Linked DNA regions of Homo sapiens: all the other regions are linked to region 1. The links are contacts of gene promoters, found by promoter capture Hi-C in blood cells and fetal thymus (Javierre and others, 2016). All regions are on one chromosome and are shown on one strand. The core of a region is centred on a gene start or on the middle of the fragment in contact, and the rest is flanking DNA. Distances in the headings are between cores, read along the strand shown. Region 1 holds the start of LINC02108 (long intergenic non-protein coding RNA 2108). Region 2 overlaps RAB3C (RAB3C, member RAS oncogene family). Region 3 overlaps RAB3C (RAB3C, member RAS oncogene family).

The links. Contacts are between HindIII fragments. The CHiCAGO score rates a contact against its expected background, and 5 or more counts as called.
Region 2: a fragment that was not itself captured here is called in contact with the fragment with the promoter of LINC02108 in region 1 in 3 of 17 cell types (M2 macrophages, endothelial precursors and erythroblasts); the score reaches 6.1 in M2 macrophages.
Region 3: a contact is called between a fragment that was not itself captured here and the fragment with the promoter of LINC02108 in region 1, in 4 of 17 cell types (total B cells, naive B cells, M2 macrophages and 1 more). The highest score is 7.0, in total B cells.

Annotation. Positions count from the first base shown.
Region 1 is chr5:58,556,025-58,560,184 of GRCh38, reverse strand. It overlaps LINC02108 (long intergenic non-protein coding RNA 2108), which reads left to right and starts at 1,942. Exons shown (of 4, transcript NR_109904.1): 1 at 1,942-1,999. The HindIII fragment of the contact is 10,011 bases long and covers 1-3,659 here.
Region 2 is chr5:58,858,234-58,862,393 of GRCh38, reverse strand. RAB3C (RAB3C, member RAS oncogene family) reads right to left here. Exons shown (of 5, transcript NM_138453.4): 5 at 3,000-4,160. Among named protein-coding and RNA genes, the nearest start is that of PDE4D-AS1, 180 kb to the left of the region's middle. The HindIII fragment of the contact is 1,390 bases long and covers 1,338-2,727 here.
Region 3 is chr5:58,840,037-58,844,196 of GRCh38, reverse strand. The region is part of intron 4 of RAB3C (RAB3C, member RAS oncogene family); the gene reads right to left. Among named protein-coding and RNA genes, the nearest start is that of PDE4D-AS1, 200 kb to the left of the region's middle. The HindIII fragment of the contact is 1,260 bases long and covers 1,411-2,670 here.

The DNA of each region.
Region 1 (4,160 bases), core at 693-3,192:
AAGACTTCATGATCTAGCTTCTGCTCATTTCCATAGTTTTTATCTCTCAGCACTCCACCTTCACTCTCTGTGCACCAGTTTTGCAGAAGTTTCTACCAGTCTTCCATTGTACCATGCTCCCTCTTACCTGTAGCCTTTAGCACAGGGTAGGTATTCTGCTAGAAATGCTTTATCACTGTACTGCCTGCAACACGCATGTGCACACACACACTTTACTTTCTTAATTCATACTCAGTTTTTCAACTCTCAAATTAAACTTCAGTCTTCCAGGAAACTTTTCTTACTCGTAACACTCTGAAGTCTAAGCTAGGTATCTGTACTTTTACCTTCATAAGGCTGTCTTGTAATCACTTAGCTTCTCCTGTAACATTTCCACTAAACCATACAATTGGTAGGAACAAGGCCTGAGTCTGTCTTGTGTATCCCTTGCTTCTCATATATTAAGTCAGGGTTCAACTAGAGTAACGGAACCAGTAAGAAATAGATGTTAAGTGATTTATTGCAAGAAATAGACCTAAGTGATTTTGGGGACTGGCTGGACAAGTCTGAAATCTGTAGGGCTGGATATCAGGAGGGACAGTTTGGAACTTGGGCATGAGTTGAACTGAAGTCTGCAGATATTGAACTCTAAGCCTCAGTGTCCTAGTCTGTAAAATAGGAATAATGCTAATAGCTACCTCATAGGGCTTGCTTTTCTTCTTCAGGGAAGCCTTAGCTTTGCTCTCAGGGCCTTTAAATGGACTGAATAAATCAAGCCCACTCAGATTATGTAGTATAATCTCCCTTACTTAAAATCAATTGATTGTGGACTTTAATAACACACAAAATGCCTTCATGGCAACACTTGGATTAACATTTGATTGAATAATTAGGGACTGTGGTCTAGCCAAGTTGACAAATAAAACTAATCATCACATCTTCATATTAAGTATAGAGTGGGCACTCAGTAATTATGAGTGAAATGAACAGACACCCAGACTATTTTGTTCAACAAGAGCATTTGCTGGGTACATCTGAAGTGTTCCACTTTGTACTACTTAATGCAGCACTATCATATTATTTATGTCTTTTACTTATCAAAGTTTGTGATTTTTTTTTCCTCTTGGTACATCTGAAAGAAAGAAAATTATGTGCCCCATGCTATTTATGACCCCTCAGATTTCCTTAGAAAGAATACATTCAGGCCAGGTGCAGTGGCTCACACCTGTAATCCCAACATTTCGGGAGGCTGAGTTGGGAGGATCACTTAAGCCCAGGAGTTTGAGGTTACAGTAAGCTATGATTGTGCCACTGCACTCCAGCCTGGATGACAGAAGACCTTTTCTCTTACAAAACCAAAAAAGAATCCTTATCAATTCATGTCATTAAATGTGACAAATGTTGAGCTTCCTGAGGTTGGGGCTGCATGTTAACATTTGTGTGCTTTCTCAGCCTTACCACAGTGTATGTGTGCAGTAATTGTTCAATGCAGCTCTGTTGTAAAAAACTAAACCTACTAAGATTTCTTTAAATGATCAATTTATAGCATTTCCTATTGCATTTATGAATACTTGCAATTGATCTTGGACTATTATAATAAATGCCTTAAAAGAAGTGAAAATATACATTTGGGAGTAAATGAAAGATTTTTTCTCCAGCATCAATGCAATATAAGATTACATGTTATAATTAATAAATGTGAAATAATGTTTAATGTAAACATTATATATGTGAACAATACTGTGAATACAATGTGATGCTTATCAAAATCAGCTAAAATAAATGTTTTTAAGATTACATATTATGTGACTTGATCAGAAGAAGGAGGAAGGAAGTTTAGCATATTTTATCAATTCTAAGATGTCATCAATTGATTACGAGATACATCATTATTTTATTTACCATTAAGAACAAAAGAAAAGGGGGGAGGAGCCAAGACGGCCGAATAGGAACAGCTCCGGTCTACAGCTCCCAGCGTGAGCCACGCAGAAGACGGATGATTTCTGCATTTCCATCTGAGGTACCGGGTTCATCTCACTAGGGAGTGTCAGACAGTGGGTGCAGGCCAGTGGGTGCGCGCACGGTGCGCGAGCCAAAGCAGGGCGAGGCATTGCCTCACCTGGGAAGCTCAAGGGGTCAGGGAGTTCCCTTTCCGAGTCAAAGAAAGGGGTAACGGACGCACCTGGAAAATCAGTTCACTCCCACCCGAATATTGCGCTTTTCAGACCGGCTTAAAAAACGGCGCACCACGAGACTATATCCCACACCTGGCTCGGAGTGTCCTACGCCCACAGAGTCTCCCTGATTGCTAGCACAGCAGTCTGAGATCGAACTGCAAGGCGGCAGCGAGGCTGTGGGAGGGGCGCCCGCCATTGCCCAGGCTTGCTTAGGTAAACAAAGCAGCTCGAACTGGGTGGAGCCCACCACAGCTCAAGGAGGCCTGCCTGCCACTGTAGGCTCCACCTCTGGGGGCAGGGCACAGACAAACAAAAAGACAGCAGTAACCTCTGCGACTTAAATGTCCCTGTCTGACAGCTTTGAAGGGAGCAGTGGTTCTCCCAGCACCCAGCTGGAGATCTGAGAACCGTCAGACTGCCTCCTCAAGTGGGTCCCTGACCCCTGACCCCTGAGCAGCCTAACTGGGAGGCACCCCCAGGAGGGGCACACTGACACCTCACACGGCAGGGTATTCCAACAGACCTGCAGCTGAGGGTCCTGTCTGTTAGAAGGAAAACTAACAAACAGAAAGGACATCCACACCGAAAACCCATCTGTACATCACCATCATCAAAGACCAAAAGTAGATAAAACCACAAAGATGGGGAAAAAACAGAACAGAAAAACTGGAAACTCTAAAACGCAGAGCGCCTCTTCTCCTCCAAAGGAACGCAGTTCCTCACCAGCAACGGAACAAAGCTGGATGGAGAATGACTTTGAAGAGCTGAGAGAAGAAGGCTTCAGACGATCAAATTACTCTGAGCTACGGGAGGACATTCAAACCAAAGGCAAAGAAGTTGAAAACTTTGAAAAAAATTTAGATGAATGTATAACTAGAATAACCAATACAGAGAAGTGCTTAAAGGAGCTGATGGAGCTGAAAACCAAGGCTCGAGAACTACGTGAAGAATGCAGAAGCCTCAGGAGCCGATGCGATCAACTGGAAGAAAGGGTATCAGCAATGGAAGATGAAATGAATGAAATGAAGCGAGAAGGGAAGGTTAGAGCAAAAACAATAAAAAGAAATGAGCAAAGCCTCCAAGAAAAATGGGACTATGTGAAAAGACCAAATCTACGTCTGATTGGTGTAACTGAAAGTGATGGGGAGAATGGAACCAAGTTGGAAAACACTCTGCAGGATATTATCCAGGAGAACTTCCCCAATCTAGCAAGGCAGGCCAACATTCAGATTCAGGAAATACAGAGAACACCACAAAGATACTCCTCGAGAAGAGCAACTCCAAGACACATAATTGTCAGATTCACCAAAGTTGAAATGAAGGAAAAAATGTTAAGGGCAGCTAGAGAGAAAGGTCGGGTTACCCTCAAAGGGAAGCCCATCAGACTAACAGCGGATCTCTCGGCAGAAACTCTACAAGCCAGAAGAGAGTGGGGGCCAATATTCAACATTCTTAAAGAAAAGAATTTTCAACCCAGAATTTCATATCCAGCCAAACTAAGCTTCATAAGTGAACGAGAAATAAAATACTTCACAGACAAGCAAATGCTGAGAGATTTTGTCACCACCAGGCCTGCCCTAAAAGAGCTCCTGAAGAAAGCGCTAAACATGGAAAGGAACAACCGGTACCGGCCACTGCAAAATCATGCCAAAATGTAAAGACCATCGAGACTAGGAAGAAACTGCATCAACTAACGAGCAAAATCACCAGCTAACATCACAATGACAGGATCAAATTCACACATAACAATATTAACTTTAAATGTAAATGGACTAAATGCTCCAATTAAAAGACACAGACTGGCAAATTGGATAAAGAGTCAAGACCCATCAGTGTGCTGTATTCAGGAAACCCATCTCACGTGCAGAGACACACATAGGCTCAAAATAAAAGGATGGAGGAAGATCTACCAAGCAAATGGAAAACAAAAAAAGGCAGGGGTTGCAATCCTAGTCTGATAAAACAGACTTTAAACCACCAAAGATCAAAAGAGACAAAGAAGGC
Region 2 (4,160 bases), core at 783-3,282, 300 kb before region 1:
CCTCTCTTGGCTTCTTGTGTCCCGTTCTCACTTGATTCTCCATCCATCCCTTTGACCACTCCTCTTTCAAGTCTCTTTGTGAACTTGTTTTCCTTGGCTGCCCATAAATATCGTGTGCCCTAGTTCTCATTCTGCTCTTCTATCATTTGAGACATTCTCTTGCACGTCATTTTCTCTACTCCCCAAGTCTTAGTTATCATCTACATACTAGAACTTTCCAGAACTCTCTTCTGAACTCTAGATCTGCACCTTCCAGATGTTCACTGGGTTGCATCCTTTGCACATCCTCTAGAAATATCAATCACAACACTGTGGATATGGAACTCATTCTCTTTTCTTTAAACCTACTGCTACTGTTGTACTTTCTCTCTTAGTTAATGGCAAAATCAACCAAGCCAGAAGCCTGAGGGTCTTCTTTGGTTTCTTCCTCTTCCTCTTCCCGAATCTTACTGGTCACCATTTCTTACCTTCTAAAGTGAACTTTCATGTATTCCCTACTCTTCATTTCTATCATTCTGCAATTAATTTAGAGATAAAACTTCTAGGTTACTATAATAGCTGTCTAATACTCTTTCTGTTTCTGTTATTGCCTCCCTTTAATTCATTTCTCATATTGCCAATTTTGTGATCTTCTAAAATTCAAATCTGTTCAAACTTCTACCTGGCTTAAATCTGTTCATGAATTCCCCACAGCTAGAGAATGAAATCTAGACATTTAAAGCATTTCTGATAAATGTTATGATCTCAGCCCTCGCTCTTTCTCCTTTTGTTTCATCCTGTGATCACCCTATGTGAATGGCTTTGAAATTCCATAAATACACCATGCTTTGCTAAACTTCCGTGGTTTGCTCCCCATGCTTGGAGCAGTCTTCTCTCACATCTGCCTCTGCATAATTCCTACATCTCCTGTATGTTTTAGCTCAGTCCTTGTTTCCTCTAGTAGGCCTTCTCAGAACATCCCAGCCCTTGCTTTCAATCTGGATTAATAATTGCTTCTCTCTGTGCTTTCACAGTAGCTTGTGTTTAACCTCTATATTGACACTAATCAAATTATATTGTAATTGTCTGCTTGGTAGAATATTGTTTTGAAATATTAATCCAGATTTTCATCCAACACTCACTTTCCATATATTTTCTATACCCTTTGCCTTTCTTCCACTTAGCAGAATTGCTTTAAGGGAGAGGCAATACTTAAAAAAGAGAACATAATTTTTAGATAAAATTTCCTGAGATTTAGAATTAATAAACAATGAGAAATTCTAGCTCAAAAGGACTCAGGTCATTAACAATAGATTAGGAAGAAAAGATGAGCAGGCAGTCTCTATCAGACTAAAGCTTCTTTGGACTGGGTGAGGGGTTGAGAAGTTAGAGGAGAAAGAGGAGAACCAAGAACCAAGAGGTGGAGTGTCCCTGAGAACTGTGCAAAGACTTTGTGGCCTTTTATATAGAAGGTGTCCTTTTCAAGTCTGTTAGGAAGTTGAGGAGAGAATGACTTAGCATTTTCTGAGGGTGACAGATGTTTTCTGTTTCATGCCTACTGTCTCAATGCTATTGAGTAAGTGGCCACATAGTAACTTCATGTTTTAAAATTAATTTTAAAAAAGCTAAGGGCATATTACTTGAGGGAATAGGGTACAGGCAGATTCCTGCTAAAACCAGTTGGATCTGGTTCTGCCACAAGAGCCTCAGAATAATCAGGAAACATGTGAAGTCTTTCTGGGCTCTTAATTTTTTTTTTTAAGTTTTGAACTGACTTTTATTGATTGTTATATATTTATCTGGGGGCAAAGGACTACAGTCCAAAAAATGCATTTTACAACATTTCAAAGAGGAAATTTTTGTGAGCTCTTTTGAAATGAAACAAATTTCCAATGTTCATTTTAAGTATTTATTAGACATATATATTAAGGAATATTTAGTTTATCAATGATGAGTTTTTTATTGATATTAACTTACACATTTTCCTCTATCACAATGGTTTAAGTTCATGGAGGGTCAGGACTCTATAGTATGTATTTTCATGTATACTGATAAATACTGATAAATTACTGAAATACTGATAAATACTGATAAATACTGATAAATTAGCATTAGAAGGCATTTTGTAAGTATTTGTTGATAATATAACTGGAAATCCCTTAATTTATTATCATTGTTTTCTTTTTTTTTTTTTTTGGTTTCTTAAGTGCTACTTGCTTTGTCTACCCAGGGAGGTTACCCTTCTATTACCAAGTTCAGTTCAGGAAGCTAATTTGACCCATGGGACTCATGTGGCTCTTCCAGGGACCTTCCCCCTTGACTGATTTTCAGTGCAGACTCCTTCCTGGAAATTGCCCTGAGGAACATTTGGAAGAAATTCCATAGAATCAGTGCTGTTAGTACAAGTAGAATGCTACAAGATTGCAAAATTAGTAGTAGGTCTGCTGTGATACAAATAGATTGGTAGCTGGGTGCTTCCCCATGCCTTGAGGCCCATGGCCAAGGAGATCCTGCACGGCATCCTAATCATCACTGCACCAAGCACTGTGCATTAAATGACACCCATTCCATTCACACATCCCATCCACATGTTTTCTCTGTTGACCGCCCTTGCCTCGGGCTATGCCAGTAGGGTGCTAAGTGATCATCAAACCTTAGACTTTTCATTTAGGGACACATGGTCTTCAAGTTGCAGACCTGAAGACCTTTATCTCCCTTAGCAGCTATTCTTGATCCTACAGCTAAGCTTTGTAACTCTGGAACCCAGTCAGTTGGGTCAGTTAGAAAGTTATCGACCTTGAAAGATTACAAGTATTAGAATTCATTCCTGTGCCTAAGTCCAAATTCATGTGTGAGATACTCAAAGCCCTAAATGTGTTCACTCTTCATCTTCAGTTCAAACTCAGTGTTGTACCTAAGATTATAGAAGTGGGAGAAGAAATGGAAATAAGCATCCTAGGATGAAAAATAATATGAATTGAAAGGAGATGAAAAACATTAATCAGACTAAGGCTAAGAAATTCAGGAATATAGTCTCTTAGATATTTATTGTAATCTTCAAGAAATAAAACAAACTCAAAGAACAAAAACCACTTTCTTTATAGAATTCACATACAAACTGAATACCTAATAGAGCACATACCATTTTTACACAATTAATTTCAATAAAGATAATTAAAACTTCACAATGTGAATACACTTCATAGCTTTAAACCCACACAAGAGCTCCTGTGGACACATGAAGAGTCACAATATTTGCTATGCAGCAGTAGTTTTCAACTAAATGTCGGTCACTATATGAAAGCATTAAGCTGTTTTCAATATTTTCTTAAGAAGAGTTCCACAGTGCAGTCACTGAGAAGGGGCCAAATGTGCCTGGTTCCAAAGGAAGATCTTCATCTGTGCATTTCCAATGCCCTTTATGGGAAACATGGAGCTACAGAAAAATCTCTGGGTACACATCTGCCAGGTGGCATTAGGTCGGACAATCTCTCATGGTTTGGTGCACTGGCAAATGTCTAAATCAACTGCCGTAATATGGCATTAAAGCAATTTGCATATTGTGGCTGAGTCTTGAGCTGCTCAGCACAGAGGAATATGATAATGCAACAGCTTGTCTTCCTCACGGAGACTAAAAGGTAGGGAGCTAAACTGGGGTAATTTGAATGGTTTCAAAGGGCCAGTTTGGCTGTCTTAAGAAAACAATGATCTATAGCTGATAGCTTTGTCTCTCTTCCATTCAAAGGAAACATAACTGTGGCCTTTCCCACTTATTTTCCTGGCACAATCTCCTCACTACCTAATTCTTTCCGGAATTATGTTTGACCTCTTCAATGGAGCCCTCTCTGACTCTTCCAGTTCTTACAGGTCCCCCATTCTCTGTGTTCCTATACCCTGACATAACCTAGCATTTAGATTATATCTGGATTTTTCCCCCTTGTTCTCATTAGGGGCAGGAGCCATACCTCTTCCATGTTTGATTCCCACAGCACTGAGCATATGAGGTTCAATAACTATGTGACAACTAACTAAAATTCAACCACACCCTTAAATTATCATTCTAATATTGGCTACCTGCTTCCATTTTTTAAAAAATTTGGCACAAAGTTGTCACTAATCTCCCTATTTTACCCACCTTCACTTGACTTCTTCAGTGGATTTTGAGAGCTAAGAACAAATTT
Region 3 (4,160 bases), core at 791-3,290, 280 kb before region 1:
ATGATCTAATTTCAGAACATTGTCATCACCCCCCAGAAAGAAACTTTGCATCCAAAAGCAAACACCCCTCATTCCTTGACCACCTCCATACTACGTGTGTTTTGCTCCGCAATTAGAATGTACATTCCACTGTGCTTCTCCATATCTCTAGAGATAGTAACATAGTGCCCAGCATGAGCAGGTGTCCAGTAGATGTTGGCTAATTAAAAGGTTTTTTTTAACTTTTGAAATTTTTGTGGGTATATAGTAGGTGTATATATTTATAGGGTTAATTAAAGAATAGATTTCTGTTAATTGGCTGGGAGAAGTAGTGGGGTTAATGGGGAAATGGAGAGAAAGAGAATCACTTTTCCTTTGTTTTTAGTTATGACGTGACTAAACCAGTGAACAATTCTGTCAGCCATATCATTTTTAGATGGAGTTTACCAAGCATGGAATTTCACAAAATATCGTTTTGGTTTTGCCCTGTGGGAAATTTATGATATAAAACAAATTAAACCAGCTCTATTTACTCACAAGGAAAGACATATTTCTGAAAAAATTTGAAGAAATGCAAGATCGTTACACTTCAACACCTGAACTAAGAACTATTAAAGTGCTGAGAAGTCAATGTTCTGTCATATTGGTTTTAATAAAGAGATAAGGATCATTTATGATTGGCAGAGTGGCTGCTTATATGCAAAGAGTGCTAAGTGTTTTAAAAGAGTTTTTTCTCTGAAATGGGTTAAATATAACCTTGTAACTTCTTAACATTTCAATAGGCTTTCAATGATAAAGGAGACAATTTCCAGCTCAGCCTATTTATGAATTGTCAACAAAAACATTGATAACTTCTGTCTGTTTAGGATTTTCAGGTTACAATAACATATGCATTATCAATTAGGAAGTTATTTTTGCTGTGGAGGATACATATGAAATAGAGCAAATAGTGTAATACATTTTTAATTACTAGGGCCCAAATGAATGAAATTTCATTGTGATATCAAAGGATATGGAATCTTAAATGTAACTAACATTTATTAAGTACATACTATATGCACATACTACGCTAGGCCTTTTTGCATTTATTTTCTAATCCTGTAACCAGCCCCATGAAGTAGATGACTTTACAAGGCTCATTTTACAGTTGCGAAAATGGTTGAGTCACACACTTGGTAAACCAGGACAAGATCTAAAATCTGACTCTAAAGTCCACACTCTTAACCTTTGTACATCCCTAATGTCCATCTTCTTATATTTTGGCAGTGTTCCACTAGCTGTTGGCTTCATTTACAAGTTCTTGGGATTTCTTATCCTTTCTAATATGTACTAATATCTGCCAATTCTTAAAATCAAGAAATTCTTCTCGAGGTCTATATCTACCTCCTTTCAATAGTAACACAGCCTAGACACAGAACACTATGTGAAGCTTCATACAAATGATTTTACTTTATATAGTGACAAATTCTGAAAGTCGTAATTAAATCATCCCTTGTCTTGATGAAGTTTGAATATGGAAAAGGAACTCTCTCCAGAAGCAGCTAGCTTTTTCACTGAACTCTCAAGGCAGAGGATGAGATGATGATGAATCTTTCTTAGGATGGCTACTTCCTTGTCAAATAAAGCCAAGCCATGCAAATGCCAGTTAAGTAAAGTTAAGGGTAAAATAGAGACAATAGGGCATAGTACCAAGATTTAGTGGAGAAAACTATTCTAATGGCTTACACGGATGAAATATCATGGGTCAGTCTGTACACAGCTGAAAGCAGGTGCCTACAGGCATCAAAGAGAGTATATCTTTGGGATTTGGGATTGAGACAAGAAAAAGTCATCCACTGAGAATAAAGTTATTAAGTAAGTGCCACAAAGTCCATGAGATTAGCCATCTGCAGAAGGAATTCACTCCAAGATAGGATGAACAAACGATTTTCTGGTGAGAACAGCACACTTCTCAAAATCCATCAAGGGACTAGAGTGTCTTCCAAATTTCTCAGATGGAGGGTAAGACTTCTCTTTTATCAGTAGTCTAATAAATGATAAAAATTTCAAGGTAAAACCATTAAAAGAAAATGGAGTTGATTTGTGTGAAGTCAAGGAAAAAAAGAGTCAAGGATTGAGATTATTTACTGCCCAGTATGGTCAATGGGGAAATGAGAGGATGCCTGCATTGAGTTGGCTGAGTATACAGGTTTACTTGCTCTGTATCCCAATAAAGAGCATTGTACTTACTCAATGGTATCCCTTAACATCACATGCCTGGCACATAGTGAGAGCTCAATAGGATAAGAAATACATGAGTAGAAAAGGACCAAGGCAAGGAACAGACAGCTACGATTTGTCAAAGGGAGAATGCTAAGTGCAGCAAGAGACTGCAGACACACATAGGGTGATTTGAAATCACCATAGGGCTGTGTAGAAGCACCCAATCTCTGCAGACTTGTCTATCCAAACTGGATCAGATCTGCCTGGAGTTAGGAAGGACTTTCCACTGAAGAGAAAATGTAAAATGATCCCCACCAGCCCCCACTGCCACCACAAACACCTACAGTCCTTATAAGAGGAGAATCCCAAAGCTCTTGCAAACCCTAAGCCCATTTTGGAGAGCCGCTAGGAATTCATGCAGCTGTATTGCCCTGTAGCAGGAGCACAAGGTTTGCACTCCCCATACCTCACACCCCTGTGAGCCAAGCTTCTGCAGCATAGCACCATCTTGAGACCAGAGCTACCTCTGGGGTCCACCCTTCTCTGGGGGCCAGTATCTACTGCACCTCTCCAGCACTGGGACTCCATTTTATTTCCAACAAGCTGATACAGGTAGCTGAATGCCACAACCCCAGCTGTGCAGAGCCTGGGCCCAGAATCAGCTATGACTCTGGTCCTGCACAGCAGGGAAAACAACTCCTGTCACTACACTTTCAGCTGGGGGAAGAGTATAGCAATCTTGCCCAGGGCAACTCTACTCTTGAGCCAGCCAAACTGCTACATGCCCTCCCCTAAATGGGAGAGGACCTGAGTCTCTGAGCAGCTGATCTGCCCCTGGCCAGCAAAGTCGCTATGTGACCGTGCTCAGGACCTGAGAAATAGCCCTGCAGTGCCCCTGCCCCCTGCCCCCTGCAGACATGGCTGTGGCCTACCCAATGGTCCTGTACTCTCCATCAGTGCCTAAGAAACAGCCTTGCAGGTTGCCCCTGGTGGGCATACCCCCAGGCCAACTGAAGAGCCTTGCACCTGCATGTAGACCTGAGAAATAGTTCCACGGACCACTCCTGGCAGGCACAATTCTAGGTCAGACAAGCAATTGCATGCTTGTGCCTGTGGCAAGAGTAACAGTACCATAGCTCCAACCCCAGTGACTCCAAGTTAGCTAGCACACTGTGTGCATATATATGCCTCCAACCTGAGAAACAGCCCAGCAACCCCAATCCTACAAAGCCACACCACTGGTGCCACAGACTCTCTCAGCCTAGACCACTGAGAAACTTGCTTATGCTACTAGTATGGATTATAGCTGAAGAAACTACATGGAGAGTACACTGTTGCATCCACCTAGAAGCAAAGCCAATGTACTCTACCAAACCAATACCCTAAAACTCATTCATATGAAACCTACTTCATAAAATTGGAAGAAGTGACTTTACCACGTGCATAGAAATCAGTGTAGGGACACATCAAACATGAGAAAGCAAGGAAACAAGACACTGTCAATGAAAAACAGCAATTCTCAAGTAACAGACCTCAATGATAAGAAAATGTGTGAAATCCCAGAAAAAGAATTCAAAACAATAAACTTAAGAAAACTGAGATACAAGAGAATATAGGCAATTCAATGAATTCAGAAAGACAATTCATGATTTGAATGAGAAATTCGACAAAGAGATGGGTATCATTAAAAAGAACAAGACAGAAACCTTAAAGCTGAAGAATCCAATGACTAAAATAAAAAAATTACCATTGAGAGCTTCAACAACAGACTAGACCAAGAAGAAAAAAGAATTTCTGAAGTTGAAGACAGGGCTTTTGAAATAATATAAGCAGAAAAAAAAAGAAAAAAGATAAATAAATAAAGCCTACAGGACTTATGGGACACTACTAAGTGAACAAATATTTATATTTTCAGTGTTTTGGGAAGCAGAAAAGAAGGGAAAAGATGAGGATAGCATAATTAATAAAATCATAGCAGA